Linked DNA regions of Homo sapiens: all the other regions are linked to region 1. Evidence: promoter capture Hi-C in 16 types of primary human blood cells and fetal thymus (Javierre and others, 2016). All regions are on one chromosome and are shown on one strand. Each heading gives the region's core, a stretch centred on a gene start or on the middle of the fragment in contact. The rest is flanking DNA. Distances are from core to core; before and after follow the strand shown.

The links. Contacts are between HindIII fragments. The CHiCAGO score rates a contact against its expected background, and 5 or more counts as called.
Region 2: a contact is called between a fragment that was not itself captured here and the fragment with the promoter of PPP4R2 in region 1, in 1 of 17 cell types (fetal thymus). The highest score is 5.5, in fetal thymus.
Region 3: a fragment that was not itself captured here is called in contact with the fragment with the promoter of PPP4R2 in region 1 in 1 of 17 cell types (total B cells); the score reaches 5.1 in total B cells.
Region 4: a contact is called between a fragment that was not itself captured here and the fragment with the promoter of PPP4R2 in region 1, in 1 of 17 cell types (fetal thymus). The highest score is 5.5, in fetal thymus.
Region 5: a contact is called between a fragment that was not itself captured here and the fragment with the promoter of PPP4R2 in region 1, in 1 of 17 cell types (total B cells). The highest score is 5.2, in total B cells.
Region 6: a contact is called between a fragment that was not itself captured here and the fragment with the promoter of PPP4R2 in region 1, in 9 of 17 cell types (total CD4 T cells, activated CD4 T cells, non-activated CD4 T cells and 6 more). The highest score is 11.6, in total CD4 T cells.
Region 7: a contact is called between a fragment that was not itself captured here and the fragment with the promoter of PPP4R2 in region 1, in 5 of 17 cell types (total CD4 T cells, naive CD4 T cells, naive CD8 T cells and 2 more). The highest score is 7.3, in total CD4 T cells.

The regions. Positions count from the first base shown.
Region 1 is chr3:72,995,209-72,998,481 of GRCh38, reverse strand. It overlaps PPP4R2 (protein phosphatase 4 regulatory subunit 2), which reads right to left and starts at 1,671. Exons shown (of 9, transcript NM_174907.4): 1 at 1,411-1,671; 2 at 324-405. The coding sequence starts at 1,444. LOC124909395 (a long non-coding RNA gene) reads left to right here and starts at 1,291. Exons shown (of 2, transcript XR_007095961.1): 1 at 1,291-1,375. RefSeq lists enhancers at 687-736, 1,997-2,046 and a silencer at 1,187-1,816. The HindIII fragment of the contact is 5,282 bases long and covers 1-3,273 here.
Region 2 is chr3:71,584,201-71,587,473 of GRCh38, reverse strand. FOXP1-DT (FOXP1 divergent transcript) reads right to left here and starts at 2,531. Exons shown (of 1, transcript NR_182289.1): 1 at 65-2,531. RefSeq lists an enhancer at 3,262-3,273. The HindIII fragment of the contact is 1,024 bases long and covers 1,465-2,488 here.
Region 3 is chr3:71,600,180-71,603,452 of GRCh38, reverse strand. No RefSeq gene overlaps it. Among named protein-coding and RNA genes, the nearest start is that of FOXP1-DT, 17 kb to the right of the region's middle. The HindIII fragment of the contact is 2,115 bases long and covers 749-2,863 here.
Region 4 is chr3:71,658,368-71,661,640 of GRCh38, reverse strand. It overlaps a transcript of EIF4E3 not described here. Among named protein-coding and RNA genes, the nearest start is that of EIF4E3, 65 kb to the left of the region's middle. The HindIII fragment of the contact is 1,728 bases long and covers 720-2,447 here.
Region 5 is chr3:71,683,950-71,687,222 of GRCh38, reverse strand. It overlaps EIF4E3 (eukaryotic translation initiation factor 4E family member 3), which reads left to right. Exons shown (of 7, transcript NM_001134651.2): 7 at 2,495-3,273. The coding sequence ends at 2,541. Among named protein-coding and RNA genes, the nearest start is that of EIF4E3, 40 kb to the left of the region's middle. The HindIII fragment of the contact is 8,614 bases long and covers 1-3,273 here.
Region 6 is chr3:71,701,767-71,705,039 of GRCh38, reverse strand. All of the region lies in intron 2 of EIF4E3 (eukaryotic translation initiation factor 4E family member 3), which reads left to right. Among named protein-coding and RNA genes, the nearest start is that of EIF4E3, 22 kb to the left of the region's middle. RefSeq lists an enhancer at 683-1,264. The HindIII fragment of the contact is 1,716 bases long and covers 785-2,500 here.
Region 7 is chr3:71,723,991-71,727,263 of GRCh38, reverse strand. EIF4E3 (eukaryotic translation initiation factor 4E family member 3) reads left to right here and starts at 1,862. Exons shown (of 7, transcript NM_001134651.2): 1 at 1,862-2,072. The coding sequence starts at 1,897. RefSeq lists silencers at 2,138-2,207, 2,338-2,457. The HindIII fragment of the contact is 7,460 bases long and covers 1-3,273 here.

The sequences.
Region 1 (3,273 bases), core at 422-2,921:
TTATGGCCAAAAAGGGTCATAATGGAATAGGCATTCTTCCTTTCTCTGGCTCGTTAAGACTAATACATTCTCTAAGCGTGCCAAAGCCTAGCTATAAAGAAAATTTTAACATACACAGGTTTTTAAAATCCGTTACAGACCATGTATAAAGTAAGTAAGCGTATACGTTCTTTAAATGTAAATATATAAATTATTTAAATGACCAGGACTTCTACAATTTAGAATGAATTATTTAATTATCCCAAAATATACTTTTTTCCCTTTCCTGAGCAATTCTTAATAATGCACTGGTCTATAACGACAAATGCATGTTTTCAACTCACATTGTTTCTCCAGTCTTGGCTACATGACAAAGAAACTGATCCAGGACAGGACAAACTTCCTTTTTCCCCCTCTTCTCAAAATCTAGATGAAGGAAGAAAAAAAAACGTTATCAGTTTTCTCAAAAGCGCTCTAAAAACAAACTTTCCTCCTAGTCCTTTACCTTATTAAAAATCAATTAAATACAAAATTAAAAAAATAAGGCCTCTCAACCAAATTACCACCTCAATCCTCCAAGTTCTACTTCCAACATGTCACCCTCTTTACAGATAACAAGAATCCTCCTAAAGGGGGCACTCAACTTCACAAACCATTTTTAACGCAGTGCTTCTCGAAGTGTGGTCCGGGGGAACACCAGCATTATATTAAGCTGGGAATCCAGTGAAAATAAAAATCCCCAGGCCCCGACTCCCACCAATTGTTCATCTAAGTCCATAAATCTGCCTTTCTAAGAAGCACCAACTACCCCAAGTTGCCGTCCCCAAATGATTCTGAATGTCAAAGAATAATTCTCAAAACGCTGAAATCTCTCTACTCGAAGTTTGTAAGCCACTGTTCTCAAGCCTGTTGCGTGGAAGGCGTGCAATCAAGAACAGTGAAGGCAACCACCTCGAAATTAGGGCGCGGAAAGATGACTTCAAAAGCCCTGAAAAAGGCATACTGAGACAACTTAAAAGTTGCGATGCTACCCCCTACCCCCGCCCCCACCAACCGTTTACTTTTTCTCCCACCCCAACGCCTAGCGTACGGGTAGCCTGGTGGAGAAAAGAGGATATCTGGGAGGGAGGGGTCTGCGGGTCCGCCACTCGTCCCCTGAACGGGTGGGAGAAAGACTGGGGCCCCCGCAAGAGTTTCCCCGGCTCCCCTCCCCCAGCCCAGACGCCGGCGGCCGACACAAAGCCAGAGCGGGGCGGGAGAGAGCTGCCCACAGGGCTCCCCGCCCCTGGGGAGGTGGAGGGGGATGGGAGCCCGGGAAGCACTCTCCCCACGCCGCGCCCGGCCCCGGTCCTCGGAACCATCCGCCCTGAAAGGAGAGAAGAGCGAGCCGGAGAAGGTGAGGGGGAATGGAGAGGGGGCAGCTACCCCCACCTTTCAGCGCCTCCTGGAGCCTCTCGACGTCCATGGCTTCCCGGAGTCCCTCACAGCCTCCGCCTCCCTCCGCGGGTCTCTTGGGGACCGGAACGCCTCCCCCCACCCCCCCGACGCCCTCCCCCTCCCTCGCACACACTCCGGCACGCAGGCGACCGGGGGGGGGAAACGAAGGGAGCCGGGGGAAGCGTGCGAGAGAGCAAGACCGACAGAGCGAGCACCTCCCCAAGCCGCTACCACCAACCCTCCAACATGGCGCCCGGTACGTCACCGCGCGCACGCTCCCTGCCGCCGTCCTCGCTCCCGCCGCGCGCTCCGGCCCGGAACCCGAGAGCGCGTGCGCGGCCGAGGTGTGACGCTGGGGCCCAGTGGCGTCTGCGTCCCGGCGGCTTCCAGAGCCTCAGCCCCAGCCCCAGCCCCAGGCCCAGGCTCCGCGGAGCTGAAGACTGGACGGTCAGGCGAGAGGGTTGCAGGCGGACTCCTAGGCTTTGAATCCCTGCCATTTCCTCTCTGTGTGAACTTAAGCTACTTACTTCGCCTGTCTGAGCCTCATTTTCCCCATCTGTACAGTAAGGGCACTGGTACTGATGCCCTATGCAGTTGCTGTGAGAATTCAGTGTATACACTTCACGTTCAGAATGCGCCTAAAAAACGTAGAGCGAGGCCGGGCAGGGGGCTCAGGCCGGTGATCCCAACACTTTGGGAGGGAGGCCGAGGCGAGAGGATCGCTTGAGCCCAGGAGTTCGAGACCAGTCTGGGTAACAAAATGACCCCGCTCCCTCGCCCTTCTCTATATAAAAATAAATACAGGCCGGGCGCGGTGACTCAAGCCTGTAATCCCAGCACTTTGGGAGGCTGGGGCGGGCGGAGCACCTGAAGTCAGGAGTTGAAGACCAACCTGGCCAACATGGCGAAACCCCGTCTCTACTAAAAATACAAAATGTAGTCGGGCGTGGTCGCTCGTGCCTGTAATCCCAGTTACTCGGGAGGCTGAGGCACGAGAATCGCTTGAATCCAGGAGGCGGAGGTTGCAGTGAGCCGATATCGCGCCACTGCCTCCAGCCTAGGCGACAAAGCGAGACTGTTTCAAAAAAATAATAATAAAATTAACAATACATACATACACTAAGCATTGCTAATAATCCTAACAAGAATACCTCCCTGCTTAACCCAACGTTCGTTCGTCACTGGCCCACCTGTGGCAAGAAGTAATGTATACAGCAAAGTCATTAAGAGCTCAAGGTTTGGAATCAATATTCAAATCCCAACTCAACTACTTACTCCTTGTGTGGCCCTGAAGTAGTTACCTAAACTCAGGCAGCTTCAGGGTTCTTATTTATAAAATGAGGGTTGTAAAACGGCCACGAGGATTGAGTGAAATGGCAAATGTGAAACATTTGGCACAGTGCGTGAAACCTGGAACACTCAACGTGGCTGGGTTTTTATTACCACTGTTAGCATTATTACATGACATAATCTCCCAGGAGGTAGGAGAGGGCGGAAACCTCAGAAGTCCTCTGCAGCCCTGACATTTTACAAATGGGAAAGCTGTGTCACAGACAGCAAGTCTGGGGAGACAGAACTAGAACCCAGAACCCAAATCATCTGGCTCCCAGCCAGTGCGTGGACATTTTTATACTCATCTGTGAGCTTTTAAAAGAAAAGGTACTGCCCGGGCACGGTGGCTCACACCTGTATTCCCAACACTTCGGGAGTCTGAGGCAGGCGGATCACCTGAGGTCAGGAGTTTGATACCAGCCAGGCCAACATGGCAAAACCCTGTCTCTGCTAAAAATACAAAAAAAAAAAAATTAGCTGGGCTTGGTGGCGGGCACCTGTAATCGCAGCTACTCGGGAGGCTGA
Region 2 (3,273 bases), core at 727-3,226, 1.4 Mb after region 1:
AAAATTTCCATTGATACTCTTGTCCTTAACCCTTCTCAACATTTGCCACTCTCCCTCCTTTTTTCAAAAATCATTTTTAATTTTTGTTTTGACCCTCAAAGAGAAATCAGTGACTTTGTTTTTACTGTGCTTGTTTTTAATTTATGGTGGGTGATACTGATTTCCCATTTAAGGCAGTAATAGAAAAAAATTAAAAGAAGGTTGATTTAAATGAAAATGTTTGCTACAATTACCATAATAAGTGGCCTCCAATGAGTATGGTATATTAATTATTCGGGAACTGTTATGTCATATAGATATGGCAAAAATCAGGACACCAGTAACTGTGGTTAAAGAAACACTAAATTAAGTGGTTTTAGTTTTTGTTCAACTCAAAACTTACAAGAGCATTCAGGTACGTCGTCAGGTGGTAAATGTCCACTCCAGTTTCTGTTCCCCAAATGTACATATATTTAGTGACATGGTATTTGGTGAATGAAGCTCATGTTTGGTGTATACAATCAACAGTAATGTGACAGGGGACTAACATATTCTGATACGTTTGGGAAAATTTTGGCTGCAGTTAACTATAATTTGCTAATTTTGCATTTACATTGGTTTTTTTTTTCTCCTGTTACTTAAAATATAACGAAATGGGGACAAGCACCTTTGCCTTGGTGTAATTAAAAATAAAATTATGTCAGGAACATCTGTTTTCAGAAGGGATTTCTATTTGTTTTATCACCAAAAGGTGGCGTCCTACCCCCATGCCCTTTATTTTAAAACCTTTCTTGCTTTAATTTAACAAAAAGAAACTTCCAGTTGATTACTGATAAAGAAATTAAAATCTGCCCCCCACGAATGTAACGTGACAGTGTTGAAAATGAACAATATGTTAAGCTGCAGTTAAGTTTCCCTCTAATGTAAACCAAATGGACATCGAGTTCTTTAATAAGGCAGCACAGCACATTAGACAGTATCATACAAAATTGAGTACAATATATCATGGGATTTACAACCAGGATTTCCTTTTGTCTGCAAAACTTGTTGCCAACCTGACTGTGGCCCCCACTTGCAAGTGAATGTAGAATTTAAGGCAGTTAAAATGCAGAATCAGATTAGCAGCAATCTAAAGATCTTTTTAGTATTGCGATGATAATAATTTTTAATAAACACACTGCTTAATCTGAAAAACAAGATCAGAGGATGAATTGTTCTTTACAGACTATGAATAGATCTGTTACATTTAAATAAGTCGTTATTCCCCTGAGTTATAATTCTACAGTCAGGCATATACCATAAACATGTTATATTTGGCATAAAGTACTTTAGAAATTAAAAACCATTTTTAATAGGTTGACCACTACAGAACCAGTAGACTGGCTACTTTGTAGATTTCCACTTAATTCCGTGTGAATTCAGCATATGGAATTTCCAGTGATGTCAAAGAGTTGTTGGCAGTATTAACTGAGTTGACATAAAGCTTTTAGTTCAGTGCCTAGATCATAGTATTTAATAAATGTTAGATGTTATTATTGACAGCTTAGACTGTGAGCTCCTCAAGGGCAGGAATTTTTATTTTTTCATCCCTCTGTGCCCACTCTGTGGTCTAGCACACAGTGGGTATGTCATTAATCCCTTTATGTCTTGACAAACAAGACGTCGAACCCTAGCCTCTAGGAAGCTAGGACATTCCATACAAACTAAAATGCATTTTATTGGTCTAGATTCTAGTCTAAAAGATTCAGTGAATAGTCTTATCTGGATAGCATGGAACTTTATGCAGCATGCATGCAATGTGAATTCTACCAGGCTGAAATTACCTTAGCAGCCTCCCTTTCTTTTATTCTGTAGCATCAGCGAATGGCTTTGTTATTTTTTTTTTTTAACTTGCGAAAGATACAATTTCAAAGCGATAGTCTTATGCCACCCTTGAAATTAAGATTTAAGTTCTTCTGTAAATTAATGTTTAACAATATTTGTAAAGGGGCATTACGCGAAAGAATTTAATAATAACCTTTTCAGGATATTATCTACAACTGTGCTGGTCTCAAGACCAAAGGGACAGTAAGCCTCTCCCCTCCCCGCAAGGGGAAGTACTTTGTAGGAATCCACAGGGGTGACTTTTAATATATTCTCATAAAGAATTGGCCTGGTGTACACCAGCCAGCCAGTAGCTGGAAATGCTGGTTTGGGAGTCTGGCCACTTCTGTGGTGGTGGGTCTGAAAAAATTTACTTCTGTTAACAACAACAACAACAACAACAACAAGACATAGAGGTCTTACAGCTTTCCAAGTCACGTTTTGGAAACACATACTCTGCTTCCTTCTCTATGCGTATTGATAAAAGTGAAAGAAATACTAGTGTCTTTTGTTTTATGTATGTATATTTCAAAACATTTAATTCAGGCTCTTAGTTTATTCCTTCGAATTTCTAAATTCAACCAAACTTCAAAAACCGCAAAAAGAAAAAAAAAAATCTCACCTTTTCAAAGAATTGGACAAAGCTTTTTGCACGTGACTGATCACTGGGAGAGCAGGTAATTTGTGTTAAACAACGGACTGACATGCTAGCCCCCAGGCGTTTTCCTAAGAGGAGTCGTGGCAAGAACACAGTTCCTGATGCAGCCACCTTCCCCCAAAGTGGACTCGATTGCACATTCCTGCAGTGGCTCTGACAAGGGGGCAGAAGCTCGTCCCACATTCACACTCTCCTGATTCCGAGAAACAGGGGAGAAAACCCCTCGCTGGCTGGCGGGGTTTCTGTTTCCTTGCAAACAGGGGTTTGTCCTTCTGCTGAACTTTCACCTCCCGAACTCGCCTTCTTTCATTGGACAAAGTGCAGAAAGAAAGAGGAGAGACCGAGGGAGGACGGGAGAGAGGGAGAAAGGGGGTTGAAAACACCACCTCCCACCCCGCTCTCCTTCAACTGTCACTGATGGCAAAACACTTTCACTTTTAACTGGAGGAAACTCACATTCTAGCCTGTCCTCTCCCCTCCCTTTCATATTTTTAGCTCAGAATCCAAGCAAATAGCCATCGCATTCCCATCTTCGTCCCTAGTTAACACTCTCCCTTCTCGTTTTTTCCGCTGTCTGAATGGGCCCCCCATTTCCCATCTCCTGAGGAATCTCCCCCTCCGCCCCCCTGCCCCTTATTTTCCAGGTCTTTCCTGCCAGATCCCTCTGTTGCCAGGGACTGCTCTGGCGTTCCCTTCCTCTCTCTGGTCCGCGGGGCTCTGCCTCCCTCTCCTCTTTCCAATCCTGCCTGGACGCCCCTCACTTCCCCCTCCCT
Region 3 (3,273 bases), core at 557-3,056, 1.4 Mb after region 1:
GAATTTTACCTTGTTGGGTTCTGGATATTTTTCTATTTCTGTAAACATTCTCTTGCTTTGTTCTGGGACAAGGTTAAGTTCCTTGGGAGCAGTTTGTTTTTAGTCGGTCTTCCTTTTTTTTTTTTTTTTTTTGAGACGGAGTCCCGCTCTGTCACCCAGGCTGGAGTGCAGTGGCAAGATCTCGGCTGACTGCAACAACCTCCACCTCCTGGATTCAAGCCATTCTTGTGCCTCAGCCTCTCAAGTAGCTGGGACTATAGGCGTGTGCCACCACGCCTGGCTACTTTTTGTATTTTTAGTAGAGACGGGGTTTCACAGTGTTAGCCAGGATGGTCTCAATCTCCTGACCTCGTGATCTGCCTGCCTCGGCCTCCCAAAGTGCCGGGATTACAGGCATGAGCCACCGCACCCAGCCGTGGGTCTTACTTTTTTTTTTTTGAGACGGAGTCTCGCTCTGTCGCCCAGGCCGGACTACGGACTGCAGTGGCGCAATCTCGGCTCACTGCAAGCTCCGCCTCCCGGGTTCACGCCATTCTCCTGCCTCAGCCTCCCGAGTAGCTGGGACTACAGGCGCCCGCCACCGCGCCCGGCTAATTTTTTTTTTGTATTTTTAGTAGAGACGGGGTCTCACCTTGTTAGCCAGGATGGTCTTGATCTCCTGACCTCATGATCCACCCGCCTCGGCCTCCCAAAGTGCTGGGATTACAGGCGTGAGCCACCGCGCCCGGCCGGGTCTTACTTTTAAGCTTTGTTGAGTGGGACCAGGTCAGCATTTGATCGAGGGCTAGTTATTTCCCACCTCTTGAAGCAAGACTCTTCTGAATACTCTACCTGATGCCTTGTGAATTATCAGGTTTTCCACGCTGGCCATAGGGATCATCTGCTATTTCTGGCCATCTGTGAGCTCTCTAGGAATTGTTCTTTCTAATCTTTTTGGGTGTGTTTTTTCCCCCGGACTTTGGACAGTTTCCTTACATGCATGACTGATCAGGTCTCAGCTGAATAATCAAGGGACTCATTGGAAGTCTCTGGAGCACCCTCTGCAGTTAGCTCTCTCCTCTCATACTCTGCCCTGTGAGTTTCAGCCACCTTGGCCTTTCTGGACTCCCACCTCTGTGTCCTCCACTTAGGGCATCTTCCAGGATTTGTCTCAGTCCCTTCTTCCTACATTAGTAGCCTAGAATATCTCTCCAGATGGAGAGGATTTCATCCAGATTGGGAATATTTCATCCAGCTAGGATGATCATAAGATTCATCTTGATTGTTTGGGTGATGATAAAATGTAGGTTATTGCCAAGTAGGTGTTTGCTGAAGTGTTTGGAAGGGAAGGTCAATTGAGTACAGGAGAACACGGATACACCAGATTAGCTCATTAACAAGGATTTTGCAGCCTCACAGCATGATGGCAGAACATGTGTGGATAAAAACCGTGAGTCAGAGTCAAAGAACTTTAGTAAAATAGGAAGAGTGAGTCACCATCATTGTCATCACCATCACCATCACCATCACCCCTATTTTATGCCACTCTTACTCTGAGGTAGAGGTAGGAGCTTCGGGTTCATTATTACATTTAATCCTGGTGGTGGCCATGAAGAAGCCCTTCCCAGATTTCCCGCTGACAGAAGCATATAGTGACCGATGGTCTCAACTGCTGCACACTGAATTCACCACTATGTTTGCATCAATGCCATGCTTCCCACAGCCTTCTCCAGACCAATGTCTGAGTGTCACAGGAATACTAATGCGGGCCCATTACCATGAGACACAAGTGACTTGGCTCCAGGATGCTTCATTGACCTTGCTGAAACTTTGATGGAGTTGCACCATAACCTAAGACTTTCCCAACTCAAAATCCTTCCTCCCTCATTGCAGTCAGACCAGCTTTGTGGTCTGACACTCTTTTAGCCTCCTTCAGCTCCATTTTCCCTCACAGACATTTTCTCCAATATGTCTCTTGCACGTGTAATCCCTTCTTGGTGAATGCTTCTCAGAAAACTTGAGCTAGCACAATCCTCAAATAACTCTGTGAGGCATGTATCCAATCCACAGATGTGGATCATGGAGGTTGGAGATTGGAGAGGGGAAGTGACCTGCCCAAGGTCACACAAGTCATAAGGTGGCTGAACCAGGATTAGATCCCAGGGCTGTGTGACTTTATAGCTTATCATAAGCATGCTGTCCTGTTACTCTCTGGATGCAAAGATGGTGGCTTCATTGTGGGTAGGAACTCCAAATAAAAATGAATTATTGAAAGAAGGCTTGGGGAGAGGTGGAAGGGTGTTTGGAGAACTCTCATTCTGACTTCTTGCCATTAAAGATGTTGATTTGAGAAGGGAGTAGCCTTTACTTACAAGAGAAGCCATTTCTGTAGGTTGAGATAAGAAGAACATTTGGAAGAGAAGAAAAGGGTGTGGCTGTGGAGGTGATTCTGCTTCCTTTAACTCTTAGAATGATCACGGCAGAGTTATAGGCTTTGACTTAATAGAAAAGGCATTTTTAAATTCAGACAATTCCAAGAGACAAGAATTCGGTTCCATCCCAGTGCACTATGAGCTGTCAACATATAAGTCCAGGAGCAGCCTGGCTGAAAAGGGGCTCACGAAGGCCAAAGCAGAGTGAAGCCACAGAGAGGAGTGGTGGGAAAAGGTCTGTTAGCAAACTCCCAAAGATGCTTAGAGAGAAAGGGAGAGAGAGCAAATACTGAGGAAGTTCCAGCTGTTGGTGACTAGACATAACATCTGGGCAATTACTGACTTTTACTTTTCATCACAGTGTTTTGGTGCCTTGTAGACACAGCTAAGATGTCACGAATGTAGATAATTTAGTACAGTTGTTGTCATTTCTTGCTGAGTTGCCTTAAGCTTGACATTAGCAAAATCGATCTTACTTAAATAAGTTTTCAATACTTATTTGCTTTTGTGTTGCAGAGACGGATTGTTTTGCTTTAAGATGATTTGATAAAAAATAGCTTATTTCATATGAAAAACTGATATATTATTTGTTATTTTATCTCCACATGTCTTGGAATCTTTCGGGCAGAGAGAAATATGACCCCTAGAATTAGTTTTCTACTCCTTCAATAAAAGCTACACCAGTTCATCCATCAGTGATAGAGGTGGTTTAGGAAGAAATTACATTTGTTTTACTAAAGAAGTCCAAATGTTTTATTTAAATCTCTAACTTCCTGGAAAATTTGATGTGGGTGGTTTGTGTGTATGTGTGTGTGTGTTGTTGTTGTTGTTAGTAAACAGGAAGCTCTTGAAATTATACACT
Region 4 (3,273 bases), core at 334-2,833, 1.3 Mb after region 1:
AACAGCCTCATGCATAAAACTGCAAGGAGCCCATTGCGGTTGGATTCCAGAGGGTTTGCTACCCTGAAGGAGAGGCCTTGGATCTTTTCTATGCCACATTCCATTAAGATATCCTCTTTATTTGACGCATGGGAAATGGAGGCCCAAGGAGGCTAAATGACTTGCACAAAGTCATGACTTCCTGAGAGGTGACAGCAAGATCTGAATACTAGTGCTTTTCACATAGGGTACTGGCCTAAGCAGTTGCACACTTTGGATGATAATAAACTTGGAAATTGAGGACCCTTTGGGAGCACGAGGCTTCCCAGTTTCTATTTCAGGGTCATCTTTATTTCACTCTGTCCCTTTAACCTTGCTGTTCCTTCCCTCTCCTCCAGAAACGTAAAGAAACTGCCGCCCCCGCCCCCCAACCCTCTTCTTCACAGGAATGTTGCAAAGATTAATTGGATAACTTCAGAATCATTCTTTTGAGTTGCTTGAAGGAAAAATGCCATCTAGAAGAACAAAGTAAAATAACAATAACAATTATTATATTTAAAAGTATTTATGAGAATCTCTGTGGGGGCAATTAAGAGGAGACCAGCTTGTACTTGTGGAAAATTCACAAGTTGATGAAACGCTCGCATCCCTGCCAGTGCCCCACGATTCTGCTGGGCTGCTGGTGGAAGGATGGTGTTGGGGTACTGGAACTGAAGTGCAAGCATGAGGGGGTGGAAGCTTCAGAGCCCCAGGCCCTCATCCTTCATAAAAATAACCAGCCTGCCCCGTGTCAGGCCTGCAGGAGATAGCACCTGTGATGGCCCCAGACTGGTTACCACGAAGTGCTCACACAGCTCTTTCCAAAAACGACATCTCCTTGTCATCCGCAAAACAGAACTTATTTTTTTGGGCTTCGGTGTCTGTCCTATAATTAATTACTGCCCATTTACAACAGAGACTGAAAATTCCTACTGCCTCAGCTGGGTGCCTGGAAGGACTTCTTTCACATCAGCTGATAGAACCTGTGTTTGTATTTAGCGGTGGGCCTGGCAGATAATGAGGTTTTGATGCCACAGAGCTATTTAGGTGAGTTTATTCTAGGCTCTAAGGATCCCTCGGCTGCTAACATCTGGTCTATTCAGATGTCGCTCTCTCTCCATTCAGAGGGCCCGGGTTTGGTGGGCAAGATGTTCTCTTTTACAATCGACTTGCCTTTGATCTTCAAGACTGGCTTTCCTGCTTAAACACCTGGCCATGCTTAGCCTCTGTAGCAATTCTGCACTCCTGCACAGTGTTTCTTTTCTTGGCTTTCTTTCTTTCTTTTTTTTTTCAGCTTCACTTTTTATACACAGATGGTCATCACGCTGTGTGCAACTGCAGCCGCAGCCTGCTCATCATCGGAGAACAGAATTTTTTTTCCCTCCAGCCGATTCAGACAGGATAACCTCTTAGGCAAACACTTGGGTACCTTCCCATCTCTTACAGCTTCATTTTCTGCTCACACCACCCCCACCAAGTCCTACCCACTGAGTGTGAGCAGAGGCTGGGCCCCCTAGAGCAGAGCTTCTCCAGCAGCAATGAGCATACATACTGACTGCCTGGGCATTTGATTAAAATACAGACTCTGATCCTTAGGCCAGGAGTGGGCCTCAGATTCTGACATCTGTCAGGCTCCCAGGCAACACCCATGCTGTTGGTCTGTGAACCACAGGCTGAATAGCAAAGTCCTAGATTACTTCTAGAATAATCTACACTTTGGCCTCCTCCCAGTAATGTACCTGCCTCTTCCCCGCTTTCTTAACAAAACTTAACTGCCTTATGTTCTGTTCTCATGAAAGCACCCTCCTGCCCCCAGGTGACTATCTCGTACTCAAATATTAATACCTGATGGAGAAGCAGGATGTGGAATCAGAAGACTGTGGGTATAGGAACTGTGTTGTGACCACAGTGTGAGAATTACATTTCTAATTGGTGAACCTTTATTGTTTTTAATATATCCTGGCAGTATTCTACCCTGATAAAAGTTTTAAAGTAATAATGTTATTCTCAATATGGAATTAGATCTTGACACGCTTTCTCCTTCCACCCCTATCCTCAGAGTTCACACAGAACAACAGAGGCTCAACTCATGGCCCATTCAGAGTGCCCAAACATAAGAATCACATCCTGTCAAGAAGACGATCTGTGCCCCTGTCACAGTTGATGCCATGGCTGAGACCAGTATGTTCTATTCAGATTTGAGAAAAGCAGTTTCCATGTAATAAGTCTGATGCCATAATTAAAACATGTAGCAACTGGGTCCATGCCTGCCTTTTACACGAATCCTCAAGAGCGACATTTAGATGAGCATGGACATCTGAAATCCACTTGATGCCATGGCTCTTTCTAGGAGGGAAGCTCCTTTATGCTGTCATTAAATGGGCACTTATGATTCTCCAATCATACATCAGGGTTGAGAGGCGCAAGCTTGCGAGTCCAACTCGCCTTGATTCATATCTTGGTTCCATACATGGCTTTAGCCCTGTTGTTTAACCTCGTTTAGCCTAGCTTTCCCTGTCTATATAATGGGCATAACTATTATTATCATGTATTTCAGGCCTGTCACATGATAGTCTTTGTAGACCCCACCTCTGTGGCTATGACAGCCCTGTAAAGCTGGCTAGCGACTGGTGTGATGTGGGTAACAGTCAATGACAGCAAACCAGCCCTTGCCTCTAGACAGGCCTTCAAGGCTCTTTCGGGCTTGAGTCTCCCTTACTCTCCTGCATCACTGGGGGGTTTCCAGGAACGAGCTTGTTCCACCAGTGCAGTGGGAGTGTGTGTGCTCTCAGGACTCAGGGCAACTGCTCCTACCCTTGTGATGTGAAGGGATTTCAGTATTTTAACTGGTCCATCTCCATTTGGCTGATCATATATTGAGAATTAGAGAGATTAAGCAAATTGCCCAAGACGGCCCAATCAGTGAGTGGTGGGTCTCAGGTGTGTCTCACTCTAGACACCTGTAGCCTTAACCGCTGAGCAGTCCTGCTCCATTTGACACGAGTGAATGTGCATGAAGGTGCCCAACAGTATCTGGCATGTGGATGGTAGGTCCTCAGGAAATCCTAGACTCCTTTGCCCTTCCCCTACACTTGATTCCTGTATGTCTCTCTGCTGAATTGAGTGCCATCCTCATTCTGGGGGCTGGGGTGGGGCGGAGGAAGCTTCAACACCTGACCTCCTCGTTACCCAGCAGGGCCTTGTGGGTGCTGTGACTCACAGTTTCCAATTCTCCCAGTTGCCCGGTTGTACACA
Region 5 (3,273 bases), core at 440-2,939, 1.3 Mb after region 1:
AAAGACCAGCCTGGCCAACATGGCGAAACCCCATCTCTACTAAAAATATAAAAAGCTAGCCAGGCGTGGTGGCAGGTGCCTATAATCCCAGCTACTTGGGAGACTGAGGCAGGAGAATTGTTTGAACCCAGGAGGTGAAGGTTGCAGTGAGCCAGGATCACACCATTGCACTCTAGCCTGGGCGACAAGAGAAAAACTCTGTCTCAAAAACAACAACAACAAATAATAATAATTGGGACAGAGACCATATGGTCATAAAGACAAACATTTATTCTCTTCCTTTTCCTGAAAATGTTTGCCAACTCCAGGCTTAGAGCAATTCTATAATCCCTTTCTACCCAAGGTAACCTAAGGCTGACAGTACACCTGTTCACTAGGCACTCCCAATTCTGAATGTTCTGTTGTACTGTCTCTTTAACCCATCAACATTGTAGTTTGCAACTATGACCACCCCAGACTGCCCCTCACACCTAGAAGTAACACAGATCTTTGGATAGTCTGTATATCTGGATTTATTGTTTGGAAACCAGGTCACTGTAGTTCTATGGTACCTCTACTTGACCCTGAAGCATAGTGTAATTTCCTTGCAGATCAAAGCGTGTTTTCTTCGATATCTTCCCTAAATATCTTTCTTAAAAAGAAAACACACACACACACACACACACACACACACACACACTCAATGTGAAATATTTGCAAAGTTAAAGCTGTGAGAAATGTTCTATTAAATTAGTTCAGATTTCAGGCTGCCCTTAGGAGTATGGCCAACCTGAGGTGACCTGGGAGGTATAAAGTGCATCTCTCCCAGTGTTTCATCCAAGTGCGGAGTAGGTTGGGGTGAACGTCCAAGATGATGTTGAAGGGAAAATAGGCCCGTTCCATCCACCCCCTCAGCAATAGTCTGAAGAATTTAGTCCTTATGAAAAACACAGAGGCCAGGTACAGTGGTTCATGCCTGTAATCCCAGCACTTTGGGAGTCTGAGGCCGGTGGATCGCTTGAGCTCAGGAGTTCGAGACCAGCCTGGGCAACATGGCAAAACCCTGTCTCTATCAATCAAAAAGACAAAAGTTAGCCGGGCATGGTGGCACATACCTGTAATCCCAGCTACTCAGGAGACTGAAGTGAGAGGATTGCTTGAGCCCGGGAAGTCAAGGCTGCAGTGAGCCGAGTAGCATGATGCTACTGCACTCCAACCTGGGTGACAGAGCAGCAAGACCCAGTCTTAAAAAACAAAAAGAAAAATAAAACAGAACTGGAAGGGGCTTAAAAGGTGAAATGGGCCAGCCCATCTGCCTCCCTAGAACCCCATTCACTGCTAAGTGTGGGTAGCGTGTTGGGGATCAAAGCACCCAGAGTCCTGAATCACCCCACCTTTATCAGACGTTGCTTCCTGGTAATGGTTAACCAGATCCGGGAGGTAGATTGTCACACTCAGTCTTTTGCCTTAGAGAAAATGTTATGTATTTCGTAGGTCTCCCTGTGGCATCTTCTACTTTAAAAAACGTTAAGTGTTTGAAAATATTTTTGGTAGCATAATTTTTTTAAATTCCTGAGTTCCGGCTGGGCCTGGTGGCTCACGCCTATAATCCCACTACTTTGGGAGGCTGAGGCAGGTGGTTCACTTGAGGTCAGGAGTTCCAGACCAGCCTGTCCAACATGGTGAGACCCCCATCTCTACCAAAAATACAAAAATTAGCTGGACGTGGTGGCACACGCCTGTATCCCAGCTACTCCAGAGGCTGAGGCTGGAGAATTGCTTGAACCTGGGAGGCAGAGGAGGTTGCAGTGAGCCAAGATTGCGCCACTGCACTCCAGCCTGGGCTACAGAGCAAAACTACGTCTCAAAAAAATATATATATATTCTAGAGTTCCTAATTAAAATTAGTAATTTTGCAAGCCAGATGATAGGTCTGAATATCTATTGGCAGGGGGAAACTTGATTTGGAAAAATAAAACTTAGCAATTTTATGAAACTTCATTTCCCATGGAGAGTGTTGAGAGGTAGGGAGCAGGGGCACCTAGATATAATTGCTGTCACCCTGGTGTGGTTCTTTGTTTTGTTTTATTTTTAGTTTATTTTTAAAGATAGGCTTGTAAGCGGCTCTGTCTTGGGTTGTGTCAGGCACCCCCTCTCCCCACCCCCTGCAATGCATTTTGTGGGGCACATTTTCCCCTGCGGCATTTGCTTGCAGCCCAACATACTCTCTTCATCGGCTTGCTGAGATGACTCATCCTCCCAGGCACAGCAAGAAGAAACAGGCAGCATGCCCATTGCTTGTTTATTCCTTGTTTTAATTTTCATTATTACGTTTCTCAGGAAATGCACGCCTTAGCTAACAGTTACTGGCAAAAAAATAAATAAATAAATAAGGTGTTTGAGTTCTTGCCAACATTTGGGGAAGCTGAATGAGATGCCTAGAGGAGGGTTGGCCCATCCTTTGCTTAAAGTTTTCTTTCCTTTTTTTCTTTTTTGTTTTTTTTCTGTCCTTTAGCCCATGAAGAGCATCATGCTTTTGAAGGTGGACGTGGAAAACACTAATTGCACTCTGTAAAGAATTCTTTGTCCTTTGCTGATTGGTTTTGGAAACGGTCTTAACAGGAGGGAGAGTGAAGAGAAGACTTGCCGAAGCCGATGCTGGTCAATTTAGAGTGGGTTTCTGTCCTTGCAGATGGGCAATTAGGACTCAAAGTGGCAGGTGGGGTGGGGGGAGATTGTGTGGGTTTCTACCGTCACATTACTTGCTTTTTAAAAAAAACACACACAAAAAACTTTTTTTTTGGCTTTCTAAATTCTCTGTTCTTTTCACTCTGATTTTTTTTTTTTTTTGCCGTTTAAAATTCCTTATTCAGCCTAATTATTGTTTTCTACACTCCCCTTTCATTGAGGCACAAGAAATGGGTTTCCCTTTAAGTAGCTCTGCTGTACCTAGTTAATGAGAATATGCATAATCGTGACAATACTGCTTTTGAATACCACACTGTACAAGGAGGAACACTAGCTTGGAGAAATCTGTCTTCTGATTATTTGTTGTGACACATTCCTATGTACTGTGAGCTGGGCATTGTTTTTTTCTGTCCCAGGGAAAAGAAAAACCATACTTAATGTGATTTTGCACTGACAGCACACAAATCTTTAATTTTCCTTTTTAAAACATTTTTTTTTAGTGATAAAAGGAAAATAATAGTTGGATTGCATAACATGAAAACTATAATCACAATTCAGTATCAGGATATAAATCAAGCTCTAAGTCTTTGGACCCTCTGTGGAAAC
Region 6 (3,273 bases), core at 393-2,892, 1.3 Mb after region 1:
CTTCATAGTTCTGTCTAGCACAGACTTTGCATCCAGTATAACAAGATTCTTTATCCATCATTTAGTTTATTCATTATATGCATAATAGGATCAACATCTATAGCTACAATCCAGTTATGAAGAAATATAACTGAAGTTAAATTGCTTGTATTCCTCCACATTCTCAGTGGAGGCTGTTGTGTCTGTGTATTGGGTGGGGTGAGACTTGACCTTGTTAATTAAAAGTAATTTAGTCACTTCAACTGTGAAACTGGGTCTCTTCTAATTTAAATCTCTTTTGGGAAAAATGACCACCCTCTTCTCCTTCTCCATATGAACAGGCATATGCAGAAATACCCCTGACCCCTCCTGACCTTGGGCCATGCCCACCACCTTTGGCCCTGCTGTAACCTCATGTTATGAAGACCCCTGCTATGTACACACACATCCAGACCCCAGGCCCTGTTGTCCTTAGGCTTTCTAGCAATTTCAAGCTCCAGATTGGAGATTTAGGAAATGTTGGCTGCCTTCCCCCGACCCCACCAGAATGAGGGGAACTCTATAAGGTTGTGGCAGGCCCTCCCGGCCAGAATAACCCCTCCTGCCTTCACAGCTGTTCTCAGACCTGACCGCCATGTTGCTCAGCGCTGTAGGAATGAGGGCCTTTTCTGGGAGTCTTGGAGCCTCTTGGGCTGTACCAGGAAGCAGGTTCCACACTCCTCTGGTCTAGGCATCCCCAATCTTTGGGTGGGGCTCTCTCCCATCCTTTCAGGGTTTTAACCCCACTGTCCTCTCTCTCCAAGCTTTTAACTCCCCAACTCAGAGTTGGTTTTTACTAACTTTCTATGTGGTGGGAAATTACCCTCACATCCTGTCACATCTCGTTTACTCTATGATCACAACTCCACACTTGGGCTCTCTCTTTAAGCCAAGCCCTTTTTGGAATTCAAAGGAAAACCCATTTCTCTCTCAAGTACCTAGCTCTTGTAAATCAGAAGCACTTTGCTTTCAGCCTTTGTGTCTGCTGTGAGTTAAAAACATCCATTAAACTCTTCAGTTGCCTATTCGGTTCAGATGCCTATTGGCCCTGCCCATAAATACCACTTATTCAGTTGGTGGGAAGCCCCAGGCAACTAGTAATACCTAATGAGCAAAAATATTTGTTTTGTTTTTTTGGAAATACTCTCTTGCTACACATGCCACAACCTTGGAATAAATCCTGGAATTTTTTTTTTTTTTTTTTTTTTTTGATGTGTGTTTGCTGGGTGGTTTTGTTTCTGGTTTGTTTTACAAAACAGACATATCACTTTGTTGTCTGTCAACACATGACATCTTTTCTTCTGAAGAATTTCCAAGTGCATTCTTTTTCTTCAGAACATTTCAGTAGGAAATTGAGGAGGAAATTTGCCAGTTTTCTTGGTAATGAATGATTATCTATTTGGCAGAAGGCTGTAAGGTGGGGCATAGTTGCTCCAATCAGTGCTATCAGATTGGGGATTTATCAAGTGGTCAGCATATTAATGGGTCTAACCATACTTTGTTTCCTTCCTTAGGCCTAGCAAGTGCTTTCACTTTGCATTTCATCATTACATTTTCCAGTGAAATAGCTGTATCCTTATACAGAGGAGGCAACGTGGGTTTCACGGGCTACATGACCTGTGAAGGTTATGCTGAGAACCTAGGTCTTAAATCCAGGTATTAGACTCCACTGGACAGGTGTCTTCCCTGCCTCAGTTTCTCCAGGAGAGGTGCCAGATTGGTGTTCCAGAACATACCTCCCAAGGAGTGGATTGCTGTGGTCAAAAGCTGACCCTCCTGCATTCAGCTAAGTTCCCCAAGGACCCGTCACAGTGCTCTGTTCACAACTGATGGTCACAGATGTTGACTGAATGAATGATGTTCAACTTTTATACCTCTCCTAGTCTTAGGGTGATTATCAAGGCTTTTGGGAAAAAAAAGCATTTAACCATCATTAATAAACATTGTGCTTAGTTTTACTTTTACTGCAATCTTGGATTTGCAAGTCTAACAGAATTAATTATAAGCCTAAAGGCTTCTGAAATCTATTTGCAAGATTTTATATATAGTAAAATTTAAGTGTTTCCATTTTCAAGATGTGTTACAGAGAGTATAATCTTGAATTACCAGGCTTCCGCTGTAGCAGACCTTTCACTTCTGCAAGGGCGGAAGAGGTTTTCAGGAGCTGAGTAATGCTAGATTCCTTCCTGTAGGTATTTCACCAGCAGACATACTTCACAAATATTCTACCTATTGGATGAGGTTTGCAACAGGGAAACAGACCAGTTTAATGACACATGCTTTTCAAATAGGGCTTTTTTTTTTTTTTTTAATGGTGTGACCGGATATTTTGCTCCTATTTTATGCTCAGCAAAAACGTACAAATATGTGCTTTAATGAATATGTTAAGTCTATCACTGATCTTCTTGGGCTGTAATCTCTTCCTGTCAAATTTGCCAAGCCAAGCAGAATCAGTTGTCTGTTTTTGTTTTCAAGAGAAGCTTCTAAAGCTCCAATCCTTAGCATGATCTTTAGTGTTTTTCTGATCTTTGAAATGGAAGAAGTGTTTTGTTGTATTTTTTCAGTGTGCTTCAAGTACTAGGTTAAAAAGTCAAGATTTGACAACTTTGACCGGGGTATGACGGCAGGAACTTTGGTTTGTGATGCCTTTGAGGAGACTTGAAGTTTGCCAGCACCAAAGTCCTCTTAGTTTTACCTTAGGCAGGGGTTTTCCTCTTAATGTTATTTTGTGCATAAATTCTACAGAGGTCATTGCCACATCGTAACCAGGTTCTCAGGCTGGAGTTGACAACCACCAGCCTCTTGTGAATTATGGGCATTTTACTGGTGGGAAAATATCTTCAACATGTGTCCCTCTTTCTGTGGCTTCATGACCTGATTCTTGGCTGCTAAGATTGGAGAAAGATGTGTCAAAAACATATAGTAGTATCTTCGAAGAAAATAGCTGAGTGGTTAGGAACAGAGGTTTGGGAATCAAATTGCCTGGATTCAGATTCCAGCCCTGCCTACCCACCCTCACACCACAGAAACTGAAATATTGGAATAATCTTATTTGTACAAATAGCAAAGCATTTACAGGATAGGTACCTCCATAGAGGCAGATGGGTGTTTGAGGAGCTACTGTTAATACAGTAGCTTTTAACTCCTCACTACACTAGCACCATTTTAGTAGAAGGGAGCCAAAGTGGATTCTCAATTAATACATCTGTCATCCTGTAGTTTTTTGCCTTCAATTTGATCTTATAGTTCATCATT
Region 7 (3,273 bases), core at 228-2,727, 1.3 Mb after region 1:
ATTTTTCTGGAAGGAAACTGTTGCCAGTGGTTTCCTCTGGGAATGAAGATTGATAGTCTTGGGAGGGAGGGAGACCTACTATTCACAGCTTGTTTTTACGTTGTGGACTTGTTAGTGTTCTGTGTAGAGAGGTAGGAGAGTCTGGCAGTTGAAAGTCTAGACTCTGGAGTCTGAATACCTATGTTCAAATCCCAGCTGTCCCACTTACTAGCTCTGTGACCTTGGGGTTATCTTAATCTTATCTCTGTTCCTCATCTGTAAAATGGGTTAATAGTATCTTCCTCATTGGCTTATTGTAAGGATTAAATGAGTTATTACGGGTAAAGTGCTCAGAGCAGTTTAAACAATGCCATATACCACGCTTCTTGGAAAAATGAAAGGAGATATTAAGCAACAAGATAAATGCATCTAACCAAAAGCACCCTCCCCTGTTTTAGTGTTGGACAGATTTTATAAAATCTGTCATTGCTTCCAGCATTGTATGTTGTATAGAAGTTAAGTTTAAAGCAGCGGTCTTGTTTTTATTATTGTCACTTTATGTGACCTTGATTACCTTTTAGGGAGGGCATCTACTCTGGGATTCATGACAGTCTGCTATGATGCTGTTGATGCCCCTGAACTCATCTTGTTTTGTAGCTCTTCCATCCCAGCGAATGCTCAAGGCATGAACAGAACACATGCTAGGCCAGGTAGAAGGTCAATGAGGAGATGGCATCCCACGCCCTTCACTGTTCAAAGCCAGAGAGGAACTATCTAGAAATTCAAGTGTAAAGAGGATGTCCATGCTGGTTGTGACATGTGTGTTCACAGGCCTCATGCCTTTGCTTTTCTTTTGAAAAAGAAAGTGACAGAGACCTGGGGAGATGCTGTGTTAGGAGGGCCCCTCCTACTTTGGGCTCAGGAATCTCACCGCCTAAGGGACTTCCTGGGTGCTCAGAGGTACAGGAAGCAGAGCGCTCTGTGTTCACAGGTGCCCGCTTTCCTCCTCCCGACTCGCCGGTGCTTTAGGGCAGATCTGGATACTTTGGCTGATTTTGGGAAATGTTCTCTGAAGTTAGCCACACGTTAAGCCAGGCTTGAGGCCTTCACTGTGGTCACATGGTAGCTCCAGAGGTTGGGATGGGGGCTCTGGCCCCTTCAAATCAGCGGAGTTAGGAAGTATGCTCTCACCAAGAGGAATGCAAAGCCCACCTGCTCCAACCTCATGCCCCAGTCGGTGGTTCTCTTGTTCGTTCTTCTTTCTCGCCCTTTGTTCTGTACTCGCGGGCACTGGAGTCTCTTTATCCATTTGGCCATCGGTTCCCCTCTCCATTTATCTGTCACACCCAACTGTGCTTCCATCTGCCCTCCATCCCTCCTTCTCTCCTCCAGCCATCTGCCAGCCTTCACTCCATCCTTCTGACTGCTGGTATGTCTGTCCATCCCTCCTTCCCTCGCACCACGTGGGTCTGGGGCTCCATCCCCTGTCCCATCCATCCCTCCATCTGTCCCTAGCCTGCCGCTCCATCCCGCTGCCCTTTTGCATGGCTGCAGAGCCAGCCCGCAGACCGTTCCCCGGTCCCTCTCACCCCCGTGGGCCCTCTAGCCCGTCCCCGGCCGCCACTCCAGGCCAGGCCGTCAGTCTCCCACGCTGGGCCCGCGCCTGAGCGGGATCGGCCCCCCATCCCTCCGTGGGTCTGTCTTTGTTCGGCGGCCCCGGCCCGGCCGTGCCTCCCACGGCCCCTCCGCGCGGCTCCCAGGCCCTGAAGGCGGCGGGCGGCGGGCGGCGGGCGGCGGGCGGCTAGCCCGGGGCGGGGCGGGGCGCGCGGGGCGGGGCGGGGCGGGGGCCGGGGGTGACTCAGCCGCGCTCGCCCCGCGGTCCGCGCGTCCGCCGGCCTTGCAGGCGGGGCGGAGAAAATGGCGCTGCCCCCGGCCGCCGCGCCCCCCGCCGGGGCCCGGGAGCCGCCGGGGTCCCGCGCCGCCGCCGCTGCCGCCGCCCCCGAGCCGCCGCTCGGCCTGCAGCAGCTGTCGGCGCTGCAGCCTGAGCCGGGCGGGGTCCCGCTGCACTCGTCCTGGACCTTCTGGCTCGACAGGTGAGGGGGCGCGGGGCCCGCCGCGCACGGCCCCGACCCGGGTCCTGCCGCCACCGCCGCTTTGTCTCGGCGCGGCCCCTCGCCCCGGCCCCGCTCCGCTGTGGCACAGACCTCGGCCCCTCCGCGCGTCCGCCTGCGCACCCCGGGACTCGCCCCGCCGGGTCGGAAGCCAGCTTCGGGCCGCGCCGGGCGGCTGTTCGGCGTCCTCGCCTCCGGGCCGGGGGAGGACAGCGCAGCCCGAAAAGTTTCGGCAACACTTTCTACCCCTTGTTCCCTTCCGATCGGAACGCGGCGTGCTGGCAGGGCCGTGGGAGAGGGTAGGCGAGCTGGGGGTGGCCGCGTCCCTGCTGCAGGGAGAGGGCTGTCCTGCTTACCCCGCGGGGCGCCTGGGAGCTCAGGACACGACCTCAGCTGTGACAGCGCTCGGAAAAGTTGCCCATCCCTTGGGAGGTGTGCGGTGGTGCAATGATTATTGCACGGCGGGCGCTCCCACCCCGTGTCCGGCCGCTGCTGCCGTGGACTCCTCTTCCAGTTCTTCCTCATCCACTGGGCAGGTATTTCCTGAACACCTACAGTGGAGCCACACACCTGCTATGCGCTGGAGATTCAATAATGAGCAGCAGCTGACCTTGTCAGGAAGGGGGTGAATTATGGCTTTCTCAAGGGACAACCCAGGTGCCATCTTTTCAGAAAGACCCCCTGACTACCGTATCTAAAATAGAAACCTTGCTCCCTCGTTTTGTATTCTCCTGCCCTGCCTTCTTTTTCTTCCTAATGCTTAATGCAGCTGGATTTTATTATATATGAATTTGTTTACTTTCAGTCTGTCTCCCCAGCTCCTCAACACCTCCCCTCAGTTAAGGATAAAAGAGCAGTGGATTTTTGTTTTTGGACATTTTGGACCTAGAACTGTGCCTGGTCCCTAGTAAGAACACCAGAAATTGTTATGAATGAATAGATGGATGAATGCAAAGCCCCTTCTTAGTGTCTGCCCTGCAGTGGGTGCCCAATGATGACACCTCAAGGTTGTCCCAAGAGCATTTGGAAATTTTGATGAAACCGTGTCTATTCTGGCTAAGTGTTAGGAAGAAATGTGTGACAGTGTTCTGAGAAGTTTGCTTGGTACACACAAATCTGGTTTTAAAAGGCTTTGCATAAAATGACTGCAAGATTTTGTTTTAAAAAAGTGATATTCATTTTT